4 separate regions of the Homo sapiens genome follow, and all the other regions are linked to region 2. The links are contacts of gene promoters, found by promoter capture Hi-C in blood cells and fetal thymus (Javierre and others, 2016). All regions are on one chromosome and are shown on one strand. The core of a region is centred on a gene start or on the middle of the fragment in contact, and the rest is flanking DNA. Distances in the headings are between cores, read along the strand shown. Region 1 overlaps LOC105372717 (a long non-coding RNA gene). Region 2 holds the start of CABLES2 (Cdk5 and Abl enzyme substrate 2). Region 3 overlaps TCFL5 (transcription factor like 5). Region 4 holds the start of TAF4 (TATA-box binding protein associated factor 4).

The links. Contacts are between HindIII fragments. The CHiCAGO score rates a contact against its expected background, and 5 or more counts as called.
Region 1: a contact is called between a fragment that was not itself captured here and the fragment with the promoter of CABLES2 in region 2, in 1 of 17 cell types (neutrophils). The highest score is 6.3, in neutrophils.
Region 3: a contact is called between a fragment that was not itself captured here and the fragment with the promoter of CABLES2 in region 2, in 1 of 17 cell types (neutrophils). The highest score is 6.1, in neutrophils.
Region 4: the fragment with the promoter of TAF4 here is called in contact with the fragment with the promoter of CABLES2 in region 2 in 1 of 17 cell types (neutrophils); the score reaches 5.2 in neutrophils.

The regions. Positions count from the first base shown.
Region 1 is chr20:62,868,025-62,874,113 of GRCh38, forward strand. The region is part of intron 1 of LOC105372717 (a long non-coding RNA gene); the gene reads left to right. It also overlaps the pseudogene ARF4P2. Among named protein-coding and RNA genes, the nearest start is that of TCFL5, 9.2 kb to the left of the region's middle. The HindIII fragment of the contact is 6,367 bases long and covers 524-6,089 here.
Region 2 is chr20:62,404,105-62,409,886 of GRCh38, forward strand. It overlaps CABLES2 (Cdk5 and Abl enzyme substrate 2), which reads right to left and starts at 3,181. Exons shown (of 10, transcript NM_031215.3): 1 at 2,811-3,181. The coding sequence starts at 3,172. LOC105372709 (a long non-coding RNA gene) reads right to left here and starts at 2,790. Exons shown (of 2, transcript XR_936967.3): 1 at 786-2,790. RefSeq lists a silencer at 3,098-3,347. The HindIII fragment of the contact is 20,791 bases long and covers 1-5,782 here.
Region 3 is chr20:62,849,758-62,856,064 of GRCh38, forward strand. TCFL5 (transcription factor like 5) reads right to left here. Exons shown (of 6, transcript NM_006602.4): 5 at 4,259-4,400. Among named protein-coding and RNA genes, the nearest start is that of TCFL5, 8.9 kb to the right of the region's middle. The HindIII fragment of the contact is 5,585 bases long and covers 1,749-6,307 here.
Region 4 is chr20:62,063,304-62,069,930 of GRCh38, forward strand. TAF4 (TATA-box binding protein associated factor 4) reads right to left here and starts at 2,578. Exons shown (of 15, transcript NM_003185.4): 1 at 1,148-2,578. The coding sequence starts at 2,507. It overlaps MIR3195 (microRNA 3195), which reads left to right and starts at 1,499; the gene lies at 1,499-1,582. LOC105372705 (a long non-coding RNA gene) reads left to right here and starts at 3,151. Exons shown (of 2, transcript XR_936960.3): 1 at 3,151-3,388; 2 at 3,639-5,232. RefSeq lists enhancers at 268-781, 782-1,296, 1,297-1,810, 1,811-2,325, 3,354-3,867 and silencers at 2,259-2,348, 2,609-2,718, 2,979-3,358. The HindIII fragment of the contact is 9,555 bases long and covers 1-6,627 here.

The sequences.
Region 1 (6,089 bases), core at 2,457-4,956, 460 kb after region 2:
GAGGTTGCAGTGAGTGGAGATTGCACCATTGCACTCCAGCCTGGGTGACAGAACGAGACTCCGTCTCAAAAGAGAAAAAAGAAAAAAAACTGAAGGCCGGTTCTCTGAGAGAAGCAATAAGATGTATCAACCTCTGGCCAGACTGAGCAGGAAAAAAGAGAAAAACAAATGACCAGAATCAGGAATAGGCGGTGACAGCAGTAAAGATTCTAAAGATACTGGATGGGTGCAGTGGCTCATGCCTATACTCCCAACACTTTGGGAGGCCAGGGTGCACAGGCCGCTTAAGCTTAGAAGTTTATAACCAGCCTGGGCAACATGGCAAAACCCCATCTCCACGAAAAACACCAACAATTAGCCGGGAGTGGTGGCACATGTCTGTGATTCCAGCTACTTGGGAGGCTGGAGGTGGGAGGATCACTTGAGCCTGGGAGGCAGAGGCTGCAGTGAGCTGTGATCATGCCACTGCACTCCAGCCTGGGTGACAGTGAGACCCTGTCTCAAAAATAAAATGAAGAAAAAAAGCTTCTGTAGATATTGAACGTATATTAAGGGGCTATTATGAACAACTTTATGGCAATAAAATCAACAACTTAGACAAAATGGGCAAATTCCTCAAAATACATAAATTACAAAAGCTCACTCAAGAATAAATAGATAACTTTATTTTCTCTATATCTGTTGATAAAATTGAACTGGTAATTAAGGACCTTCTCATAAAGAAAATGCCTCTAACAGATGTCTTCACGAGCTAATCCTACTAAACATTTAAGGAAGAAATAATACCAGTTCTATTGGTAATACGAACTCTTCCAAGAAACTGAACAGGAGGGGATACTTTCTAAAGCATTCTATGAAACAAACATAACTCTGATATCAAAACCAGACAAAACAGAACTACAGAGCAATATCTGACAGGAGCAAAGATGCAAAAGTTATTTTTATTTTTATTTATTACTTTAAAAAAAAGTTTCAAGAGACAGGGTCTTGCTCTGTCACCCAGACTAGAGTGCAGTGGTGTGACCATGGCTCACTGCTGCCTCAATCTCATGGGCTCAAGCGATCTTCCCACCTCGGCCTCCTCAGTAGCTGGGACCACAGGCATGCCAGAATACCTGGCAATTTAAAAAAATTTTTTTGTAGAGACAAGAGCCTTGCTATGTTGCCCAGGCTGGTCTCGAATTCCTGAGCTCAAGCAATCCTTCCACCTCAGCCTCCCAAAGTGTTGGGATTACAGTTGTGAGCCACCATGCCCAGCCCAAAATTCTTTTTTTTTTTTTTTTTTTTTGAGACAGAGTCTCACTTTGTCACTGAGACTGAAGTGCAGTGGCACGATCTCGGCTCACTGCAACCTCTGCCTCCCGGGTTCAAGCAATTCTCCTGCCTCAGCCTCCCAAGTAGCTGGGAATACAGGCACCCGTCACCACACCTGGCTAATTTTTGTATTTTTAGTAGAGACAGGTTTCACCATATTGGCCAGGGTGGTCTTGAACTCCTGACCTTGTGATCCACCTGCCTCGGCCTCCCAAAGTGCTAGGATTACAGGCATGAGCCACCCCACCCAGCCCAAAATTATTTTTAAATAATGTTAGCCCTGTAATCCCAGCGCTTTGGGAGGCTGAGATGGACGGATCATTGGATGCCAGGAGTTCGAGACCAGCCTGGCCAACGTGGCGAAATCCTGTCTCTACAAAAAAATACAAAAATTAGCTGGGCGTGGTGGCGGGCACCTGTAATCCCAGCTACTCAGGAGGCTGAGGCAGGAGAATTGCTTGAATCCGGGAGGCAGAGGTTGCAGTGAGCCGAGATCGTGCCACTGCACTTCAGTCTCAGTGACAAAGTGAGACACTGTCTCAAAAAAAAAAAAAAAAAAAAAACAAAACTTAGAAATAAATTTGATGAAAGATGTAAAAGACTGTACACTGAAAACTACAAAATACTGTTGAAATAAATTAAAAAGATGGACAAATATAGAGATATACTATGTTCATGGATTGGAAGGTTCGATAGTGTTAAGATGTCTGTTATTCCCAAAACTGATGTATGCAGTTCCAATAAAAACCCAGCAGTGTCTTAGTCCATTTGTGCTGTCATAACAAGACACCTTAGACTGGGTCACTTATAAACAACAAAAATGTATTGCTCCTAGTTCTGGAAGCTGGAAAGTCCCAGATCAAGGCACCAGCATATGTGATGGCTGATGAGGGCCTGTTCCGCTCAGATGCTGCCTTCCTGCCACATCCTCATGTGGCAGAGAGAGAAAATCAGCTCCCCCAGGCCTCTTGTAAAAGGGCACTAATCCCATTCATGATGGCTCTCCCGTCATGACCTAGTCACCTCCTAAAGGCCCCTCTTCTTATTTTTTATTTATTTATTTTTTTGAGATGGAGTCTCGATTTATTGCCCAGGCTGGGGTGCAATGGCATGATCTCGGTTCACTGCAACGTCTGCCTCCCGGGTTCAAGCAATTCTTCTGCCTCAGCCTCCTGAGTAGCTGGGATTACAGGCACGTGCCACCACGCCTGGCTAATAGTTTTGTATTTTCAGTAGAGACAGGGTTTCACCATGTTGGTCAGGCTGGTCTTGAACTCCTGACCTCAGGTGACCCGCCCGCCTCGGCCTCCCAAAGTGCTGGGATTACAGGCGTGAGCCACCGCACCCGGCCATTGTTTTAAAGACCCCTCTTCTTAATGCCACCACAGTGCAGATTAGGTTTCAGTATGAATCTTGGAGGGATACAAACTCAGACCGCAGCAAGCAGGGTTTTTTTTCTTTCTTTCTCTCTCAAATTCTTGGAAGGTTGAGCAGGGCAGGGTCACCAGGCCTGCCGGCAACTGCTCCCCTTCCTCTCATCCTCCTGTAGCTTCTTGGACTCCTGGGCCAATTGATTTTTCTGTTCCGTGATGTGGAGTGATCAAAGCTGGTTCTGGGTTTTCTGGAGCTGGATCTTTGATTGCCTTTGATTTAAAAGCATTGGTAACCGTTTCTCACGGGAAAGAGGCGCTGATAATTCATGCAAATGAGCATCAATGGGCAAAATTCAACCAAGTGCCTCTGGAACCAAGGCTGCCATTGAACATTCTAGTAAAAATGGGGTGGAGGCTTTTGCCCAAGTGCTCTGGATAATCTGGGAAAAGAAAATGGTGAGTCAGTGCTTTATTTTATTTATTTATTTATTTATTTATTTGTTTGTTTTTGAGGCGGAGTCTTGCTCTGTCACCCAGGCTGGAGTGCAGTGGTGCGATCTCGGCTCACTGCCACCTCTGCCTCCTGGGTTCAAACGATTCTCCTACCTCAGCCACCCAAGCAGCTGGGATTACAGGCACATGCCACGATGCCTGGCTATTTTTTGTATTTTTCTGGTAGAGACAGGGTTTCACCATGTTGGCCAGGCTGGTCTCGAGCTCCTGACCTCAAGTGATCTGCCTGCCTCGGCCTCCCAAAGTGCTGGGATTACAGGTGTGAATCACCGTGCCCAGCCGAATTTTTTTTTTCTTTTTTTTTCTTTTTAGATGGAGTCTCTGTCACCCAGGCTGGAGTACGGTGGCACGATGTTGGTTCACTGCAACGTCCGCCTCCTGGGTTCAAGCGATTCTTCTGCCTCAGCCTCCCGAGTAGCTGGGATTACAGGCACGTGCCACCATGCCCAGCTAATTTTTTTAGTAGAGACGGGGTTTGGGGTTTCACCATGTGAGCCAGGATGGTCTCGATCTCCTGACCTCATGATCCCCCCGCCTCGGCCTCCCAAAATGCTGGGATTACAGGCATGAGCCACCGTGCACGGCCTTTTTTTTTTTTTTTTTTTAAATAGAGGCAAGGTTCACCATGTTGCCCAGCCTTGTCTCCAACAAGCTCAAGGGATTCACCTCCTCACAGACAGTGCTCCCACAGGCGTGAGCCACCACGCCCCACCTTATTTATTTTTATGTATCTTAACTTCCAAGGTGGATTTATTTAAAGGTTTTACAATAACTATGTCCAGGCTTTAGGCTCATGGGAAGTAAATGAGGACACCTTTTTCCCAAGAAGAATTTCTTTAAAACCAAGCACATTGCTAAATAACAACATTATATTTGGCAAACAATAATTGGCAACAAAATAAGTTTATTATTCTGCCCAAGCCAGTCCCAGATGCTGTTTCTTAACCAAGATACAAACAAATTTTGCTGTAGCAAGTCTAGACCAATTTTATCAAACATGTCTTTGGTTAGATGTCTAGTTTCATTTAACGTTTTGAAAACTCATTTGACAGCCAGTCAAGTCCCTCATCTACACCAGCTCCGTGTTGCACAAGTGGCTTGAACATACCATGTCCTGTTAGGAAGAGACTGAAGAGCTGGCTGGCTCATCTGTCGTCACACTGATGGCCCGAGCGCTGGGCAAACCCTGTTTGTTTGCAGAGAGCAGTGGCGCTGCGTCTCCACACTCACCGGCCAGAAGCCTTTTCTGCAGCGCGTCCGCCACTTCCCGAATTCTTTCATGATCGTTGCTATCTACCAGCAAAAGAAAACCCTGGGTATTCTGGAAGTAATGCTTCCAGAGAAGCCTAATTACATCTTGACCATGAACATCCCACACCATGAAACAAGTGTTCTCTTTTTGAGTCAGAGTCTCGCTCTGTCATCCAGGCTGGAGTGCAATGGCGCAATCTCAGCTCACTACAACTTCCACCTCCCGGGTTCAAGCAATTCTCCTGCCTCGGCCTCCCGAGTAGCTGGGATTACAGGAGCCCACCACTATGCCTGGCTAATTTTTGTATATTTAGTAGAGACAGGGTTCCACCATATTGGCCAGGCTGGTCTTGAACTCCTGACCTTGTGATCTGCCTGCCTCGGCCTCCCAAAGTGCTGGGATTATAGGCATGAGCTACCGTGCCTGGCCCAAAACAAGTGTTCTTATATTCTACTCTTTCCATGTTAAAACCAATGGCAGGAACTGTGGTGAGTACCTCCCCTAACTTCAGTTTATACACAATGTATAGGCAGCATCCAATCGAACCGTCCAAATGTGCATCTGCTTCTTGCTGAAGAGGCGGGAGAAGAGAGAGGAGATGGCGGGGACCATGGGTTCGTGGCACTTGTGATGGGCAGAAGCAGAGGGGCTTGGGGGGCCCTGTGCTTTCTTCTTTCATGCTTCCAGGCAAATTGAACAAGGGGGAAGAGAAAGAACTGAGGAAGAAAGAGGGAGGCAGGGACATCTCACTGGCCCATGTGCTGGTGAAGCTGTAGACAGGAATTAGCAGGACGAGGACCTGCTGGTGATGGACACAGCAGCTCCAGCTCTCGATGCTTTAAATGCCTGGCTTGGAGTCTGAAAAAGGAACCTGAAAGCCTCTATGACTGCCTTAAAGTAAGTCCTTATCTCCTGTAGCCATGGGGCTGAGATTTCTGCAAAGCAAACCTGAAGCCTAGTCTCCTGGATGATTTAATTACAGCCTAAACTGCAGTTTCGACTTTGCAGTGCCTCTTTTGTTAAAGTTAGGGAAGTTGGGAAAGAATGGGAACCTGACGTTGCAATGGGGGCATGTGGGCGGCAAGCCACCCAGGTGCCGAGGCAAGAGACCGAGGGCACGAGCTGTTCCAGTGTAATAAAATATATAAAACAACAAGAGTTATACCAGATACAGATCATAGACATGATTATATATGAATATCTTTCATCATTAGTTTGTAGCAATTACTCTTTATAATGCTTGCTCTATAATCATAATCTAGGAAAAACCAGGCCATACAGAGACAGGAGCTGAGGGGACATGGTGAGAAGTGACCAGAAGACAAGAGTGTGAACCTTCTGTTACGCCCGGACAGGGCCACCAGAGGGCTCCTTGGTCTAGCGGTGACGCCAGCGTCTGGGAAGACGCCCGTTGCCAGACGGACCGTGGTCTAGCGGTAGCCTCAGTGTCACGGAAAAACACCCGCTACTTAGCAGACGGGGAAAGGGAGTCTCCCTTTCCCCGGGGGAGTTTAGAGAAGACTCTACTCCTCCACCTCTTGCGGAGGGCCTGACATCAGTCAGGCCCGCCCGCAGTTATCCGGAGGCCTAACCGTCTCCCTGTGATGCTGTGCTTCAGTGGTCACGCTCCTAGTCCG
Region 2 (5,782 bases), core at 1,931-4,430:
CAGGAGGTAGAGGCTGCAGTGAGCTGTGATTGCGCCACTGCACTCCTGCCTGGGAGACAGAGAGAGACCCTGTCTCAAAAAAAAAGAGGCTCTGCTCATCTCACACTGACTCCTGCCACATACCTCACCAAGCCCTGGGCACGCATCTGACCTCTGACCTCAGGGAGGCCATGCTTAGTGCTTAGTGTGAACCCGCTTCTCAGAGGAGATTGAGGCTCAGAGAGGCCATGTCACCTGCTCAAGGTCACAGAGGTACTGAACAGTGCAGCTGGGATTCCAAGCCAAGTCTGTTCCCAGAGCCCAGGTCAAACCACCACACTCACAAGACCAACATCAGGGCTGCCTTCAGGACTTTCAGAATTCTCTCCATTTCCTGAAACCAACTCATCCTAGAACTCTCAAGCCAGGAGCTAGCAGCCCCTTTTGCCGGGGCAGCCACCCTTCCCTCGATCAGCAGCCAGGCCCAGGGAACGCAGGGTGAAATGGACGTCCTCACGCTGGGGTCTACCTATCAGGGAGGGGCCATGGCCCTCAGAAACAAGGTCAGCACCACGAACTTGGCAGCAGAGCCCCAGGAGGGACGCCTCCCCCTCCAGGAACAGAGTGGGGTTCAGGAAAGACCTGAACAGGGACATGGGGGCCAAGGAGGAGGGAAGGGAGGAGACAGCCCTGGGCAAGGCAAGGGGTGGTGGCGCTTGGGCCCATGGTGGGTACGGCAGGAGGACTGCAGGCACCCAGCCCATGCCACGTCCCATCCTGTCCCAGGGATGCCGGCCACAGCGCACCTTCTAACAATCCCACAGGGCAGGGATGTGCTGCACGTGGGCAGCATGCTGCGCTCAGAACTGTCACCATGGAGGCTCTGGGCCTGCAGGGGGTGCCTTCTCAGTCACAGGCACTTCCCTGCGCGTCGCCACGCTCTGCCTCCCTCCACTCAAGTGGGCTCCACTCCACGCCAGGCCTGGTGCACACAGGGGTGCATGAACTCTGTGGAAGGAGGGCCTATGACAGCACCCAGTCTGCCTGGTGTCACCATCCGGTTCTGGACACTCAACATGCAGGACTGAGGGAGAAAGCTGTTTCCATGTCAAACAACAGGGCCCGGGGTTAGGGAAAAGCCCACCACACCTGCGGAGCTCGGCCCGTTGGGGTGAGCCCGCTTCCCCTGGAGTCCACACCTTAGGGCCTTGCCGCTCTGCCCTGGAGAGTCACCACCTTGTTCCATCTCTCCCGCCTTCCTGAAGGAGCTGGCCATGCCAAATGCATGGGGCCTGGCTGCCACATTTGGGCAAATCCATCCCTCTGCCCCAATCATCCCTCTGACCCTCCCTGGAGCAGCGGCCAGGCATGTCCGTGGGGGGACATCTTGTGGACAGGCCTGGGTCTGCAGGCACCCTCAGCCTGGCTACGGCCAGGAACACTTCCAAGGATGGAGTGCACCGCGACCTGCGTGTGACGCAACCTGCATGTGACGTCATAGTCTTTGAGGACAGAGTGCTGTGTTCTGGGCCCAAACTTCCCCAACCAAAGACCTTAGAGGAACCCAATGCCTCCACCTGCCCGAAGGCCAGGGGCGTGGGGCAACTCTGATGACCTCCAGGTAAGCAAGGAGCACGTGCCAGCCTTGACCCAAGAGCTCTGTGTCGGCCCCTTTGCTGCACACCTGCAGGGGCTGCCTCTGGGAACAGCCGCCCAGCAGGCACTTGGACCTGTGGACAGTGGCTCCCTTTGAGAAGGAACCGCAACAAGCAGCCAGTCCTGGGCCCAGAGCCCACAGTCACTCCTGGAGGTGAGGGCTGTGGGAGGCAGGGTCACCCAGGTCCTGTGGTCTCTGGGAGAAGGACACAGGGTGTCGGGCAGCCAGGGGCCATCTGGGCAGGGGGCACACGCTGGACAGGCAGGGCTCATGGTTGGGGTTGCCCTGGGATGGGCTGAGGTGGTTCCCAGAAATGGAATCAAGGCAGGGGGAGCAGTGGAGACCCAGGGTGTGACAGACCCAAAGATACCGAGCTGAGAGTGATGTGGGGAAGGGCGGGGCTCAGCAGGGAAGTGACAGGGAGAGGAGGGGTGCCAGAGACCAGTGGCTGTGGGATGGGAGATGTGGCTGTGCAGGGGCCTCTGGGAACAGGTGTCAGTGACAGTGCCAGGAGGACCCCGGCCCACATGCTGGGTCTGAGGAGGTGGGCATGGACGGTGTGGCCCGGTTCAAAGAATGCGAAGAGATGCACAGGGCTGTCCATGTGTCCCTGTGTCCCGGGCACTGGTACCAGTGGATGGGGGTGGGGGCATGTCCAGAACCCACAGGGCTGGGGGTCTCAGGGGTAATAAGGGCTGAACCCTAAAACCCATTTCAGAGCACTGACAACGTGGAGATCCAGACCCCGTATTCAGGGGCTGGGAGAATTCAGGGGACAATGAACCCTATGTGTGGGGGGTGACAGGGCCTGAGGAAACCCTCAGCCAGCCCAGGAACCCCCAGTTCTGTATCCAGGACTGACAAGGTCCCAGGTGAACCCAACCCCTGTGTCCTGGGCTGATGAGGGCCCAGACTGACCCTGACCCCTGTGTCCTGGGTTGACAGGGGCTCAGGTCACCTGAACCTCTGTCCAGGGCTGACAAGGCCCCAGGTGAACCCAACCCCTTTGTCCTGGCCTCTGTCCAGGGCTGACAAGGCCCCAGGTCACCTGACCCCCTTGTCCTGGGCTGATGAGGCCCCAAGTAATCCTGACCCCTAGTCCTGGGCTGATCCGGCCCCCGTCCCCGTCCCTGTACCCCGCGTCCTGGGCTGACCTGGCCGGGCCCCCACTCACCTCTGGCGCTGCCCATCCAGGCCGAGGCCGGTGGGCACCTGCGTGGGGCTGAGCAGGCCCTGGGGCGCGGGGGTCCTGGCGGGCAGCCCGGTGGGGGGCTCCGGCGGCGGCGGCGCTGGCGGTTCGCGGGCCTCGGCGGGCGGCGGCGGGGGCTTCTCTCCGCCCGGGCCCAGGCTCGGGGGCCGCCCGTCCAGGGAGATGTTGTTGAGGAAGAAAAGCGCGGCCTGGCGGCGCCGCGAGTCCCCGCGCCTCCGCAGCGCCTGCGGCGGGGCCCGAGCGGCCGAGGTCGGCGCGGCGGGTGGCGGGGGCCCGGCGGGGCCGGGGGCCGGGCCCGGGGCTCCACCGGCCGCGGCCGCGGCCATCCTCAGACTGCGCCCGCCGCCGCGAAGCGCCCCACCCCCTGCCCGCGCGCCCGCGCGCCCGCCGCCCATTGGCCGCGGCGCGCCCACATGCAAATGTATCGCCGTCGCGCTCTCCCATTGGCCAGCGAGGTGCCGCGCTCAGGGCGCTCCCCTGGGTCCTAGAGGCGGTCGGACGCAGCAGCAGGGAGTCGGGAGCTGCGCGCCTCCCCGCCGGTTCGAGTCCCCGTCTTGGGACCTGCGGCCGCGGGGCTCTCGCTTTCTGTTCCCTTTGCTGTATGGCGGCCTTCGCGGATGGCCTCCATCGAGCGCACATTTTAAGGCTCCGGACCCAGGGCGGCGTGGGTGAGGCCCCAGCACACTTCCCTGTCCGGAGGTGTGTCTGGGCGGCGCTTCAGCGGGCGCAGGGCGGCCCCTGGAGGAGCCCCACCGCTTCCCGGAAGGGCCCGCGTGCCATCTGGCCTCCTTCATTGACAGAAGGGAACGAGGGTCTGAGTGGAGAAGGCACCTGCTTGGGATCAAAGCCCCAGGCAGAGTCCTGCACTTCCTGCAGTAGCAAAGTGACCTTGAGCCTGCCTTGTGCCCAGGCCTGTTTCCTCTCTGTGCCTGGGTGCCCCTGACTTCAGAACCTGTGAGCCCGTGGCACCGGGATGGTCAGGGCCTGCCTCTGGAGCCCGGGAGCCTGTCTGCAGTCTGGAGGGGAACCCGCTGTATCTTTGTGGAGGGACTCAGGACCTTGCACCCACCTCTGTGTCACCTGCCTGCTCTGTCCAGCTTTCTTTCATGGGTTTACGTATCTTTAAAGAGGGGACAATGATTTCAGCCTCAGGGTACTGTCAGGATGAAACTGGCTCAGTGAGGGGGTCGGGCTGTGGCCGGAGGCCAGGCACATGCAGTGGTCAGTCCGCGAATGCGCTGCAGTACCTCGCACCTGCCCGCATGCGCCCAGCCTCTCCTGTGCTGGGTGCTGGGGACCCGGTGGGACCGACAGGCACAGCGCTGGCCCTAGGAGCACCTGGTGTGTGGGGAGGCAGCATGATGGCCAACAAGGCAGTGGGCGAGTGGGCAAGACAGGGTCTTCATCACCACCCCTAGCATGGGCCCCTGCCCTTCAGGCCCCTACCCACCTCCCGCCTGCCTGCTCCCTCCTGTGGGCCTTCACGGGCCACCATTGGGGCTCACGCAGCATGCAGCACCTCCATTTCCTTTCCCTCCGCCCTTCCAAGTTGGCCTCCAAGGCCTCTGCCAGGCCTAGGGGAAGGTGGGCAGCTGTCCTGTCTAGGAGAACGCGGGGCTGGGTGGCATAGCAGAGGGGTGGCTGCGGATTCTGGATCCACAGAATGGGGTGCTGACTTGTGTGCCTGGGGGCTCCCGTGAGCGGGGAGTGAGTGTGTCCAGCGCTGTAGGGTGCTGAGGCTGGGGCAGGCACACAGTGGGCCCTCCATCCCTGCTGGCTATCACCAGGAGGAGGGGCCTGACAGGGGAGGGTGGGCCATACACCAGCAGCTTGCAGAGAATCTGGTGTCAGATGAGAACAGAAAGGGGCGAGTGAGGGTGGAGGGCAGGACGCAGGAGGCAGGAGGCAGCTGTCCGTGCTGGCTGCAGCGCCGGGTCCTGGGGATCGGCTGTGCAGTAGGGGGGCCCCTAGCCAGTTCTTCTTTGCTGGCGCTAAGCTAGACTTTGAGGGACAAGGAGGAATGCTGAGGAAGGAACGGGGTCTCTTCCTGGGTCTGGTGAACCCCCTTGCTAGGCTCCCGCTGCCAGTCTTCTCCCCTCCCCAGGGTGTCGATGGGTGGCCAAAAGCCAACCTGGCCTGCGGGCAGTGTGTAGGGAACACACGGCTTTTGTTTCGTGTGATTCTGGAGAAATTAAAGCAACCTTTAACACACCTGGACTTCCCTCTTGGGAGTTCAGTCCCTCTGGCCTCTCAGGACAACAGGCAGACATGTCACAGGCTGCAGGTGGGAGGCAGTGCCCCCTGAGTCAGGCCCGCACCCCAGTCTGGCCCAGGCCTCACCCAGCCCAGTCGTTGGCCCGTGTCCTGCCATCCCTGTGATGCGTGGTTTTAAATGCCCAGCTCACCTTGGTGCTTTGGCTGCAGAGGGCCCTGCTCATGAGTTTCGCTCCTTATTTTCTTTGGCTCTCACCCTGAACTCTGAGCAGGTGTCAAGCGCAGGGCTCTGTCTGGATGCTCCTGACTGCAGGCCTGGCCCTTGGGCTGACTTCTTAGTTTCCCCCTTGCCCTGGCACCCCTCCGTGGCCCCCACCTTTCCTTTCTGCCTGATCCTTGTCCATTTTTCTAGAGTTGGGGTCTCAGCAAACTTCCCAGAACATCCTAGCTCCTTGCCTACTTGGCACACTCCTGTTCATCCCTCAGAACCCAAATTTGGGTTGCAGGTGCCACCTGCCTTGACCTCCCAGGGACACCTGCTCTCCTCCCCGTCCCCCAACACTGGCCATGACTTGGTGCCATTGCTCCTTTGCCCACCGCTCCCTGATGCCCAGCAGAGGTGTCAGTGCCCAGTGTCTCTGCCCTGTAAGGGGCAGTTCTCAGACTTCACATTTAGGAGAATTACCTCTGGGAGCTTCTTAAAACACAGACTCCAGGCTCAC
Region 3 (6,307 bases), core at 3,291-5,790, 450 kb after region 2:
AGACCAGCCTGTGAAACATGGCAAAACCCCATCCCTACAAAAATAAAATTAGCTGGTCATGATGGCACACACCTGAAGTCCTAGCTACTTAGGAGGCTGAGGCAAGAGGATTGCTTGAGCCCAGGAGGCAGAGGCTGCAGTGAGCCATAATCATGTTACTGCACTCCAGCCTGGGAGACAGCAAGACCCTGTCTCAAAAAAATAAAACAAAACAAAATAAACATTAAAATAAAAAAATTAGGCAGGTATAGTGGCAATAAAAGAACATTTTGGGCAAATCTGAATAGTCTGTGCATTAGAGGATATGAAAAAGACTTATTATCTTGGGGAGGCATGATCATGGCACTGGGATTCTGTGGAAGGCCTGTCTTGGAGATTTATGTAGAAATATTTAGAGATGAAGGTTCGTGTCTATAATTGTCTTTGAAATTGTGCGTGTGTACAAAGTAAATACGGTAAATGTTCATTGCTGAGACTGAAGCATGGGTGTACAGGTGTTCACTGTAATTCCTATGTTCACTAGAAAACGAACAGAAGTGAATCACTGATGGCTGACGCCGCCCTGCCCTCACCCCATACTTATCTATCCCCTGCCTCCCGATGTCCCCACCTGACGCCCCCAGAATGCCGAGATCCTGCTTCTCTGAGTCTTCCCTCTCAGTAAACAGCCCCATCCACCCAGCCACCGAGGCCAAACCCTGACGCCTTTTTCCCATCACAACCCCCAACTGGTACCGCCACAAACACAAGAAGCCTTGTGCCTTTCCTCCTCCCCAGCGCCGCCCCCTGGCAGCCATCGCCCGGCAAGCCACATCTTCCAGCTACTGCAGACTCCTGGTTTCCACTCTCACCCCAGCCCAGCTCCTACTCCCTAGCATCCAGTGTCCCCCAGCAGCAGGGTGATATGGGTCATGTCACTCACTGCCCAAAGACTGCCGAGGCCCCCAACCCTCAGGACTAGCGGTCCACCAGGCCCCAGCCTGCCCCGGTGCCCTGCCCAGCAACACTGGCTGGCAGGCAGGCACTCCTCAGACTCTGCAGCCGGCAGGTCCTGGCTGCCAGCTCCCTGTCATCATTGGGCCTTGGTTGGGCGCCTCCCTCGACCACCCAACATCACCCAATCCAAAGCAGCCCCCGAGTCCGGCTGGCTCGCAGCAGCACCTTCCACCCGCAAGGCCCTGCTCCCACTGTCTTCACGTTTACTCGTCCCCTGCCTCCCTCCATGCCAGACATGCCTCTATCTTGCGCAGGGTACCCCAGCACCTTCAGCAGTGCCTGGTCACACTGGAAAAGACCTGCTGAGTGAAATGTGTACCAAAATAATGTAGAGAAATCACTTAAAACTCTCATGTATTACGTCTTCAAGGACAAAAATATGCATCCAAGTAAAAGGGGGCAGTCACTAAAGAAACAATTAAGAACCCATGTGTTTCGGCTTTTTATGTTCTAATTCCCCGAAAAAATTGTGAACTGACTTGACCTCAGCCTGTTTCTTGGTGGGTCTAATAATGTGACCCAGAAGTAATCAGATTCAATGTAATTACATTTAAGAAATATTCAGCAAACATAATGTATGTAAAGTATCATATCCATAAACATTTGGTCTACTTAATCTTTGACTATACATACAATTAACATTTTTTAATTTCAAAAATTATAAATGCCTTCGTCTTGAGTAAATCAGATCAATAATGATTTACTAATAGATACACAAAGCCAAAACATTAAAGCATTTTTTAAAACACAAAAGCTTTATTTTATCAAAACAAATCAACAGTCTACCTCTAACAATAATCTTCAAGAGTAACTGCATTGTAAATAACCATAAACGATCCGATCAGAATACATTCAACATAGCATCGCTATAGAATGCAATTAAATGTATAATGTAAATAAACAACTTAAATTATGCAACTCGCAAGATGTAAATGTCATGTGGACACAGAAAAGGGACAGAGACAAGACAAACTATTGCCTGGCGCTGAAGAGACGAGCCCTCACTCAACACAGCCCAGCTGCGGGGACCTCTCTCTAGCCCCACCATGACGTAGACACAGGAGCCCTTCTTTTGAGATGGAGTCTCGCTCTGTCACCCAGGCTGCAGTGCAGTGGTGCTATCTTGGCTCATTGCAACCTCCGCCTCCCGGGTTCAACAATTCTCCTGCTTCAACCTCCTGAGTAGCTGGGACTACAGGCGCCACCACGCCTGGCTAATTTTTGTATTTTTAATAGAGACGGGGGTCTCATCATGTTGGCCAAGCTGGTCTCGAACTCCTGGCCTCAAATGATCCACCCGCCTCGGCCTCCCAAGTGCTGGGATCACAGGCATGAGTCACTGCGCCAGGCCTGGGAGCCCTTCTTGGAAGAGGTCCTTGTTTGTTGCAGCAACCTTAGTTTGTTCTCTAGTCAGACTCCTGCCTGGGTCAACAGCAGCAATTCCCCAACAGCTTGGACCAGGTACAAAGTCAGGACCCTGTGGATCTATTTCACTAAGGTCTGCTCACTCCTAGAGGGCCAAAGAGCCACTGACCCTGGCCACTGCAACGCTGAGGCCGGGACCTGGAACTCGGGTCCCCCAAAGGCAGGGCCCAGGACCCTGGAACTCGGGTCCCCTGAAGGCAGGGCCCAGAACCCTGGAACTGGGGTCCCCCCAAGGCAGGGCCCAGAACCAGCCCTGTGACTGACACCTTCTTCCTTTTAGGCCACTGAGGGGCTGACTGAACTCCTGCATTCAAATCACACGTCTAGTTCCAGCCAACCACGATGGCTTGCTGCAGGCCACTGCCACGACCACACAGACAGGATCACGGCAGGCTGGCTGTCCTGAGGGACTGCATATGCTGGCGCTAACACGCCGGCTCCTCCCTAGTCACCCAGTCCACAGAAGTATATTCACCCGGTCCACAGAAGTATATTCACCCGGTCCACAGAAGTACAGTCACCCGGTCCACAGAAGTATATTCACCTGGTTGACAGAAGCATAGTCACCTGGTCCGCAGAAGTATATTCACCCATTCCACAGAAGCACGGTCACCCGGTCCGCAGAAGTATATTCACCGAGTCCACAAAGGTATAGTCAACCAGTCCACAAAAGTATGTTCACCCAGTCCATGGAAGTATAGTCACCCAGTCTGCAGAAGTACATTCACCCAGTCAGCAGAAGTATATTCACCCAGTCCGCAGAAGTATAGTCACCTAGTCCGCAGAAGCATGGTCACCCGGTCGGCTGAAGTACATTCACCCAGTCCGCAGAAGTATAGTCACCCGGTCCACAGAAGCATAGTCACCCGGTCCACAGAAGTACAGTCACCCGGTCCGCAGAAGCACAGTCACCGGTCCACAGAAGCATAGTCACCCGGTCCACAGAAGTACAGTCACCCGGTCCACAGTATAGTCACCCAGTCCACAAAAGTATAGTCACCCAGTCCACAGAAGTATAGTCACCCAGTCCACAGAAGTATATGCACCCAGTCCACAGAAGTATATGCACCCAGTCCACAGAAGTATATTTCTTATTAACCTGCTGGGCATATTTGAAGTCCAGATCAGACTATTTGACACTTATCTGCATTTTTGTTTCTCTTTCTTTTTTGGGGTGGGTGGGGGTGGGGCAGGGTCTTGCCCTGTTGCCCAGGCTGGAGTGCAGTGGTATGATCTCAGCTCACTGCAGCCTCGACCTCCCTGGCTCAATTGATCCTCCCTCCCAGCCCCCGCCCCGAGCAGCTGGGACTACAGGCATACGCCACCACACCAGGTTAATTTTTGTATTTTTTAGTAGAGATGGGGTCTTGCCATGTTGCCCAGGCTGGTCTCAAACTCCTGGGCTCAAGAGATCCTCCCACTTCAGCCTCCCAAAGTGCTGGGATTACAGACGTGAACCACTGTGGCTGGCCGGTTTTTGTTTTTCTATTCTTGCTTTTATCCCTTTCACAAGTTTTTCTGAGGGCAAATATCATGTCCTACACACCCGTCAGCCCCAGTGCAATATACCGTACACAGCAGGTGCCCAATTTGCTATCTGACAATTGCCTCTTCACAGTTATTTACACACTGAGTGTAACACATGTAGGCTGTGACTATTACTTTAATAAATGACAAGTTATATCATTAAAGAGCAGAGCTTTGCTCATACTGGACTTAGTATTTGATGTTAGATTCCAGGAAACAAAGGATAGTTTGAGTTATCCTTAGGAAAAAGGAGGGACATTGTTAAGTAAAATTTGTAAAATTCTGAAAATCTACCTGGCCTACCACTAACCTTTTTAAGAGAATCTCCATGTCTTTCCTGGATGTATTTCAGGAATGCTGTGGTCCACTGCAGAGTTGTGGCCTTGTCAGTCTCGGCATTGCAGAACGGCACTAAGAGATTCAACTCATCACAGCAAATGCGGATTCTGCGCCTATAGTCAAAACCCAAAGTCATCACCGAGAGAGACCGGAGCAAAACAAACATGTAAAAGGAAGCGTCTCCTGTAGTACTTGAGGGAACCAGAGCTCGTGCATCCTGGCCACTGAGTGCCACGGAAGCGCCTGTCACCACAGGAAGCCCCACGGCTTTGCCACGGCCTTGTCTACAGAGGCAGCCACTGCCTTCCAGAGGCCAGAGCATCCTCGGGTGCCCTTGGCGGCCCCATGACCCACAAGCTCCCTGGAGCTTTCCCTCTTTACTTCTCACGGGCCAGGTTCAAGTCTCTAGATTAGGGATGGCTCCAAAGCCCCTGAAACTGGAAGCAACATTTTGTGTCTGACACCTTCTTCCATTTGGACCACTGAGGGGTCCAAATTGGGCAGATAACTCTGTCATTCAAGACTGATATTACTTGCCCTTCACGGGCTAAATACCCTACCAGGAACTCGTGCACAGCTTTCTCCAAGGGGCCCTGATTCAGAAAGGATCACGGCCCAACACTCTGTTAATATTCTGAAACTTGGTCTTTGTAGAGATAAACAATTGGAGTCTTGTTATTAGACTATTTTTTAAACTTTTACATATTACATTCAGTAACATGCAAAGTCCTAAACAAGCAGATACTGAGCAACTTATTCAATATGGCCCTTGTTACTCACCTTCACACCCGTCTATTTAGAACTTTAATTAGAGACTTTGCCAGTAAAACAGCAGCTGGCATTTACTAGGTGCTTTTGGACTTCTAGACATTGAGCGAAACACTCTTTACACATCAGCTCACTGAACTCTAACCACAAGTCTACGCAGTAGAGCTAGAAGTCCAACTTTCAAACTGTCAACGTACGGTGTAAGGCTTTCCACATAGCAGGTACTCAATAAATGTCTATTAAATAAATGTCGGAGCAAAATGCCCTTCATAATTCACAGTAGGGTGAGGAAGGCCCTCAGTTAGTCCATGTGTATAAAAGTATCATAAAAAGATATTAGCTAGCTTTTTAATTTTCTTTCTTTGGGGGATGGGTCTCACTTTGTGGCCCAGGCTGGAGTGCAGTGGCATGATCACAGCTGACTACAGCGCTGACCTCCCAGGCTCAAGTGATCCTCCCACACCTCAGCCTCCCAAGTAGCTGGGGCGACAGGTGTGCAACACCACCACTACTAGTATTGTTGGTTTTTCTTTAGAGACGGGGACTTGCTATGTTGCCCAGGCTGGTTTCAAACTCCTGGGCTCAAGCAATCCTCCCACCTCGGCCCACAGTCATGAGCCACTGCACCCTGCCCCAGCAAGTTTGAATAGATCCCTTTAAAAGAAATTGCCATGCCAGGCGCAGTGGCTCAAGCCTGTAATCCCAGTACTTTGGGAGGCCGAGGCACGTGGATCACCTGAGGTGAGGAGTTCGAGACCAGCCTGACCAACATGGAGAAACCCCTCCTGTACTAAAAATACAAAATTAGCTGGGCGTGGTGACGCATGCCTGTAATCCCAGCTACTCAGGAGGCTGAGGCAGGAGAATCGCTTGAACCTGGGAGGCGAAGGTTGCGTTGAACCGAGATCGTGCCATTGCACTCCAGCCTGGGCAACAAGAGTAAATCTCCATCTCACCAAATAAAAAAATAAATAAATAAATAAATTGCCTTAGCTCAACATTCAACCTTGGAGCTTCAAACCTGAGTATTTGTCTCACTCACTGTTATTTATTTCCTGAACTTAAAGCAGAAACTGGTACACAGTACCAGTACTCGATACATTATGTAGTTAATTAATTATAGATTAGGGAAATATTCTATGAAAACCCAATTATAGGCCGGGTGTGGTGGCTCATGCCTGTAATCCCAGCACTTTAGGAGGCCGAGGCAGGCGGATCACAAGGTCAGGAGTTCGAGACCAACCTGGCCAAT
Region 4 (6,627 bases), core at 1,328-3,827, 340 kb before region 2:
CTCCATTCAGAGAGGGGACGCAGGAGGGACCCACGCTCTCCTTGCAGTTCCTACTACTGCTGCCACCGCGCTGCTACAACTGCACGGCACGCGTCACCACAGGCCGGGGAGGAGCTCCCCTGCCCAGCACCCACCACGGCGGCTGGGGAGGGACGGGGAGCCCCAGACAAAAGCAGCAATGCTGGCCAGGCAATCTTTCCTGTCAAACTTGAGGGGCCCTGAGGAGTCGCAGAGACAGCAGACTAGACAGGAGCGTGAGAACTGCCAGGCGGAAGTGGCGTCGGAGCCCCAGGCATCCGCAGCATAGCCAGTATCGCCCCGAGACCCCTGCACGGAGCGAGAACATCTGCTGCCACCGCCCTCCCACTGCCCTCCCGAGGGGGCAGCAACCAGAGTAGCTAGGCGCTCCTTCCTTTAGGCACCAACGCAGCTCTGGAAGAGACAGTGACACACACGGTGCTGAAACCCTACTCCACAGCGTGGCTCTCAGCAAGGCTGCGCGCCGGGAGGACTCTCGCAGGATGCGCCTGACATCTCTCCCTGCCTGGTGGCAGCAGAGGAGCCCAAGCCTTCCATCCAGAGTTCCCGAGCCTCAAGGAGGGGGCGTCGCGCCCCCGTCCTCGCCTGGAGACTGAAGAGGCTCGAGCCCAGGGTCACCAAGGGGCAGAAAGGCTAAGTGGGGACACAGGCCACACGCCTAACTGCAGAACTGAGCAGGGGACAGCTGCTGCCACTCACAGCCCCAGGTACTGCCCTCAGCTCTGCAGACCCCATCGCCTGGCCCAGGGAGCCCCTGCGCTGAGCCTACCAACCCGGGCAGGGACGCATAGGGCGGGAGCAGGTAAGGACCACTCCACTAAGAGTCCTGGCTGAGCCACTCCGAAACAGACCAGCCCCAGGCACAGGCAGCCAGCGCGGACGTCAGGGACAGCGACAGGGACGCAGGCTATGCCGACTCCCTCTGGCTCACTCGCAGACAGCCACCCGGGCTGGCCCCGCACCTGGGTAGAGACTGCCCCTCGGCCTGCTCCAGCCACGGGCCTACGGGACAGATGACCTTAGCATTCCACCAGCGGAGAACTTCCTGGAACTGGCAGCTGGCGCTGCTGGGAGCCGCCCTTCCCTCCCGCCCCGTGCGGCCACTCACCTGGGGGCAGCTGGAAGTTCTGGATGTTGGTCGGGTTCTGAGGCGGCTGCGGCAAGCGGGGGGCCAGCACGGTGGGCGTCAGGGTGGCCCGAATCCCGCTGGTGGTGGCCGTGGGCGTCCGGGACAGGCTCTGGGTCACTGCGCCGGCCGCGCCTTTGGGCAGCCCGGTGGGGGTCCCGGGGGCGGGCGGCGGGACGGCGGCCGGGCTGGGCAGCGCCCCTTGCATAGTTGGCCCGATGACCATGCTGGCCGCCGTGCTGGCCGGGCCGCTGGCCGCCAGGGTCTGCGCCGCCGGGGGCGCCGCCTGCACCACCCTCTTGGGCGACTCGGCCTTGACCCCCGGCGCCGGCGCCGCAGCCGCCGCGCCGGGCCCGGGTTGGCCGCTGACCCCCGCGGGGCCCCCGGCGGCCGGGGCGGGGGCGGGGGCTGCCCCGGCGCTGCCCCCGTTCTGGGCGGCGGCGGGGGGCGGCACGGCGGGCGCGGCGGTCGGGGGTCCGGCGGGGTGGCCGGGCGGCCGGGCCAGAGTGGCGGGCGCGGGGGGTGGCGGGGGCGGGGCGGCGGCGGGGGCGGCGGGCGCGGGGGCGGCGGGGGGCGAGGGCGCGGCGGGCGCGGGGGGCGCGGCGGCGCCCACGAAGGGGGGCGTCTGGATGACAGTGCCGGGGGCGGCGGGCTTGGGCAGCGGCAGCAGCGCGGCGGGCCCGTTGTTGACCAGGCTGACAGCAGGTGCGGCGGCGTGGTGCGAGTTCAGCAGCGCGGCGCTCCCATTCAAAGTTTGCGCGGCGCCGGGGCCGGCGGGCTTGCCAGGGCCAGGGCCGGGGCCGGGGCCGGGGCCGGGCCCGGGGCCGGGGCCGGCGCGGGCGGCCAGCGCGGCGGGGCCGGCGGGCTTGGCGGGGCCGGCGGGGGCGGGCTCGGGCCCCGCGGCGACGGCGGCGGCGGCGGGCACCGGGGCGCAGGACCCCGCGCTGCCCTCGGGCGGCGGCCTCAGCTTCGCGGCGGGCGGCGCGGGCCCTGCGGGGACAAGGGGGCGGCGCGGTGAGGGGGGGCCCGGGCGCTGCGGCCCCCCGCCCCCCGGCCGCGCTCTACCTGCGGGGGGCGGCTCCGGCGCCGCTCCGGGCGCGCCCTCGGCGGGGGCGGCCGGCCCTGCGCCCGCGGCTCCGGCCGGGCTGCCGCTCACAACATGGTTCCCGAGCGCGCCGGCGGCCGCGGCCCGCACCTCGGGCGTGCGCGGCGCGAGGTGGTGGTGGTGGGCCGCGCTGGCCGCCAGCTGCGACTCCAGCGAGCCCACCAGGTCGCTCACCACTTTCTCGTCCACCTCGCTGTTGAAGAAGACCTCGTCCAGCAGATCCGAGCCCGCCGCCATCTTTTTTCCTCGGCCGCCGCCGCCGCCGCCGCTCGGGCCGAGCGCGCCTGGGCGAGGAGGAGGTTCCGACTGGGGCGGGCGCTGGGCGGGCGGGGGGCGGCGCGCGGCCGGCGGGGGGCGGGGGCGCGCGGCCGGGGGGCGGGGGAGCGGGGGTGGCGGCCCTGCGCAGGCGCGGAGACCGCGGGCGCCCGGCGATTGGCTGCGGCGCGCGCTTAAAAGGCGCGGCCAATGGCTGCGAGCGCTAGAGGCCGGGGCGCGGGCGGTCGGCCGGGGTGCGGCAGCAGCGGCGGGAAGCGCGGGGGCTGGAGCTCAGGGGCGCGGGCGCCGGGGCGGTGGCGGACGGGGAGGGGGCCGCCGGGCGGGGCGCGGGATGCGGGAACGGTGCGCTGGGCCGGGCCGAGGCGGGCGCGGGGCGGCGACGGGGCCTCGCTCTTTGTCTCGGCTCGCTCCAAAATGGCTGCGGCGGCGCTGACGGGAGCGCCGGGCGGGCGCCGTGCGCGGTGGCAGCGGCGGCGCAGGGCCCGTCCGAGGCCCGGGGAACAGCGCGCGGGGATGCCGGGGCGCCGCCGGGCGGCGCGCAGGCCCTGGAGTGGATGGGCCTGGGAGGCGGGCGGGAACGGGGAGGGGACTGTCGCAGCGCGCCCTGGGGACGGGGACCGGCGCCCGGCCCCTCCAAGCCGCCGCGGGGAAGCTGGGTCCGCCTCTGGCTCAGCCGGTCCCGGGCGGTGGGGAGGGGTCCTGCGCGCACGGCTCTTCTCGCCCTCCAATCGTGACCACCCCTGGCCCTTCCCTCCATTTTTAATCAATAAACCCAGCCGCCCCGGGCTGACTGTCCCCGCACCCAGCTGCCTTGGAGACAGGAGTGTCGTATAAGCCCGTAGGTAAGAGCACGGTGCTTGCCAGGCGCCAAACGAAGTTCCCGAGCCTGAAGCCGGCACGTCTGGAAGTAGCTTTTTTTACCTTCTGCTGGGGGAGGGGAGTAAGTTACCTAAAGTGTTCCCAAGCACCTTCTCTCTAGAAATACTTCAGTAAAAGTTCCAGTCCCCTCTTTCTGCGTGTTTTATTTTCCAACCAAAAGATGGTGTTATTGGACATTTCTAGTGGTTTTCCTTTCTCTCATTTCTTCCTAAGAGCCCAGAATAGGTTTCAGAGAGACGCTTCCTTGCCTCGGACCTCACTGGGGCCAAGAGGCCACAGGGTCAGTCTTCGCAGCTGAAGACAGCGCCGCAATAAGCAGAGACCTCGGGACGATGAATGACGTTGCTGACAAAGAAAATGATTTTTTTAATTGCTTTAACAAAGGAGACTGCTAGTCTCGAAAGCAGACCCGAACTGGACCCTTGTGCCTGTTCGAACTGTAGCCTTGCAAAGGAATGGACTTACTGATAACTGGAATACGGGACTTCACCCCAGGCTTGTTTCTCGACAGCAGCAGCAGCCAATGAGCATTGAGGACGGAGCCTAGGAGAGGTGCCTCCCCTATAGGGGAACAGTGTTTGGGGGAAATCACTGCAAACGTACAGCTGGAGTTTTGTACCTGAACTTTGGCTCCCAGAAGGCAGGAAAGGAAATGAATGAAGCAAGCTGAGTATGGCGGGGAGGGCCCCTGTGGGTACACCTACGGAGCACCTTGAGCTCAGTAGGGGGACAGTCTGAGTTTTCCAGAAAGAACAGAAATATAAAGTGATGATTAAATCTCGGGATTTTTAATTTTTGAGTGTTGACAACTAATTAGAACATTTTTAAAGCAGGTCAAAGCACAGGCAGGCTAACTGGCCCCACGCACAACTTGCAAGGTGGGGCGCACCAGGCTCACTGCACAGCCCATACCCACAGACCCCTCAGATTGGAGTCGGGGCAGAAGCAGAACGCAGGACTCGCAGGAAACAGACCAGGTTCCAAGGCCCCCAGGGTCCCAAAGGCTGGGGTAACTGAAGGTTCCCACGCTCAGGCCTCCACTCTTCAAGTCCGCTGCTACTCCACTGAGATCTGTAATGAGTCTCCTGCCATCTACGCACAGTGGTGACTCCTCTTCTCCAAGGCCCCGCCAGGAGTCTTTCATTCCAACGTGTTCGCAGGATCTTCTGGGGAACCGTCCAGCCTGGCAGCTGCAGGAACTGCGAGAAGTTAAGGGTCTGTGCCCACCTATTCCAGCTTCCCTTGCAAGGAGGGTGTTGGGCACCAGAAGGCCCTGGGGAAAGTGGGAGCCGCAGACAGCCAGGCAGCTCTTCTATGTCTGGGGTTTGCAGGAGCACTGCCTTCCGGGGGGGGGGGGAGGGGAGGCGGGTGAGGACAGCACGTGACTTCCCCTCCTAATGTTCATGTGGTGGGGAGTCACCCTGGGGGCCTCCCGCCAAATTTTAGTATCTCTGTGATTTTAGTTGTTGCCCCAAGCAGTTAGGACTTGTGTAGTTTGAAAGAAAAATCTCACCCAGCATAAAAAGAGAAAAGGGGGAATTGTAACAAATGTTAATCATAAGCACTGTTTCAACCCGGAAAAATGTTTGCTGCCAGGCTGTGGGCAAAGAGGTGGCCTCGGCGGCTGGCAGCTCAGTGGGCCTTCCAAGTTTACTAAGCAGGGTCTTGTATTTTTAAATAAAATAGAGCATCAGACACGCTCACTTAAATATAAAAAATAATAAAAACAAGTTTTGAATTAAGTTTAAGACACATTAAGAATAAAACAAATCTAAGAATAAAGGGAATCAGTGATTTCCAAGCTGCAGGCTGTGTGAAAGTTCTGTGGTGTTTGTTAGGTGACCTGTGCTTTTATTGTCTGCCTGACAGCCCTCATCATAAAACAATTTTTTAAAAAAAAAGCCAGCGCCAGCTCACGCCTATAACTGCAGGGTTTTAGGAGGCTGAGGCAGGAGGATGGTCTGAGCCCAGGAGTTCAAGACCAGCCTGGGCAACAAAGCAAGACACGGTCTCTACTAAAAACAGGTTTTTTTAATTAGCCAAGCGTGGTGTTGTGCACCTGTGGTCTCAGCTATTTGGGAGATTGGAGCAGAAGGATCACTTGGGCCCTGGAGTTCAAGGCTACAAGTGAGCTGTGATCGTGCTGCTATGATTGTGCCACTGCGCTCCAGGCTGGGCGACAGAATGAGACCCCTTCCCCCCACCCACTCCGCAAAGAAAAAGGCGTGCAGCTAGATAGCAGCTGAATGTTTTTGGGGTGTCCACCAGCCCCGCTGGCAGCGTTCGTCAGTCTTGCAGACTCAGGGGGGATGTCTCTGGTCACAAATGAATCCACATCCCAGGGAGAAACTTGTGGCCACCTAATTGCTCTGTAAATGCAGAGGGATGCGTTTCTCAAGGCTGCCTTAACGAATGATCACAAACGTATGCAACTTCAACAACAGGTGGATTCTCACAGCTGTAGAAGCCAGAACCAGGGTGTGGGCAGGGCTGCACTCCCTCTAGAGGCTCTAGGGGAGGATCCTTCCTGCTTCCTCCAGCTTCCGGTGGCTCCAAGCATTCCTGGGCTTGTGGTCACATCACTCCAGTCTCTGTCTTCTCCTGACCTTCTCCCTGTGTGTCTGTGTCCTCTCCTTTTATAAGGATACCAGTCATTGGATTCAAGACCTCCCTAAATCCAAAACGATTTCATCATGAGATCCTTTACCAATTATGTCTGCAAAGCCCCTGCTTCCAGATAAGGTCACATCCTCATGTTCTGGTGGATATGGTTTGAGGGGACACTATTCAAGCTAGTATACGGGATGGCTACTTACTGTTCACTTACAGGGAGACCTTTGGTAAGAGGCACTTAGCCTGGCCCCTTCACCCTGGGACACAAGTCTGGGGAGGCTGGAGCCTGAGACAGTAGCCTGTGACTTGAGAGTTCCGGAGTAGAGAAGTCCACTGGCCAAGACACCTCCAACCCCTGCCCTGCTTTCCCAAGAAAATGAGGATTCTCAGATCTGCTCGGCCAGGACTCTCTCGCCAGGGTCAGGGCTTGGCCAGGCACTAGCATTAATCAGGCCTGACACGTGATCAAGGGCCAGGTGGAGCCTGTTGTACAGATGAGGGGGGACTGGAGCTTGAAGTTAAGTCAGCAGCCCAGGTTTCATTCTTGGAAGGGGCAGAAACCTTGGACTTGGACCCCAAAGCTGGCAGA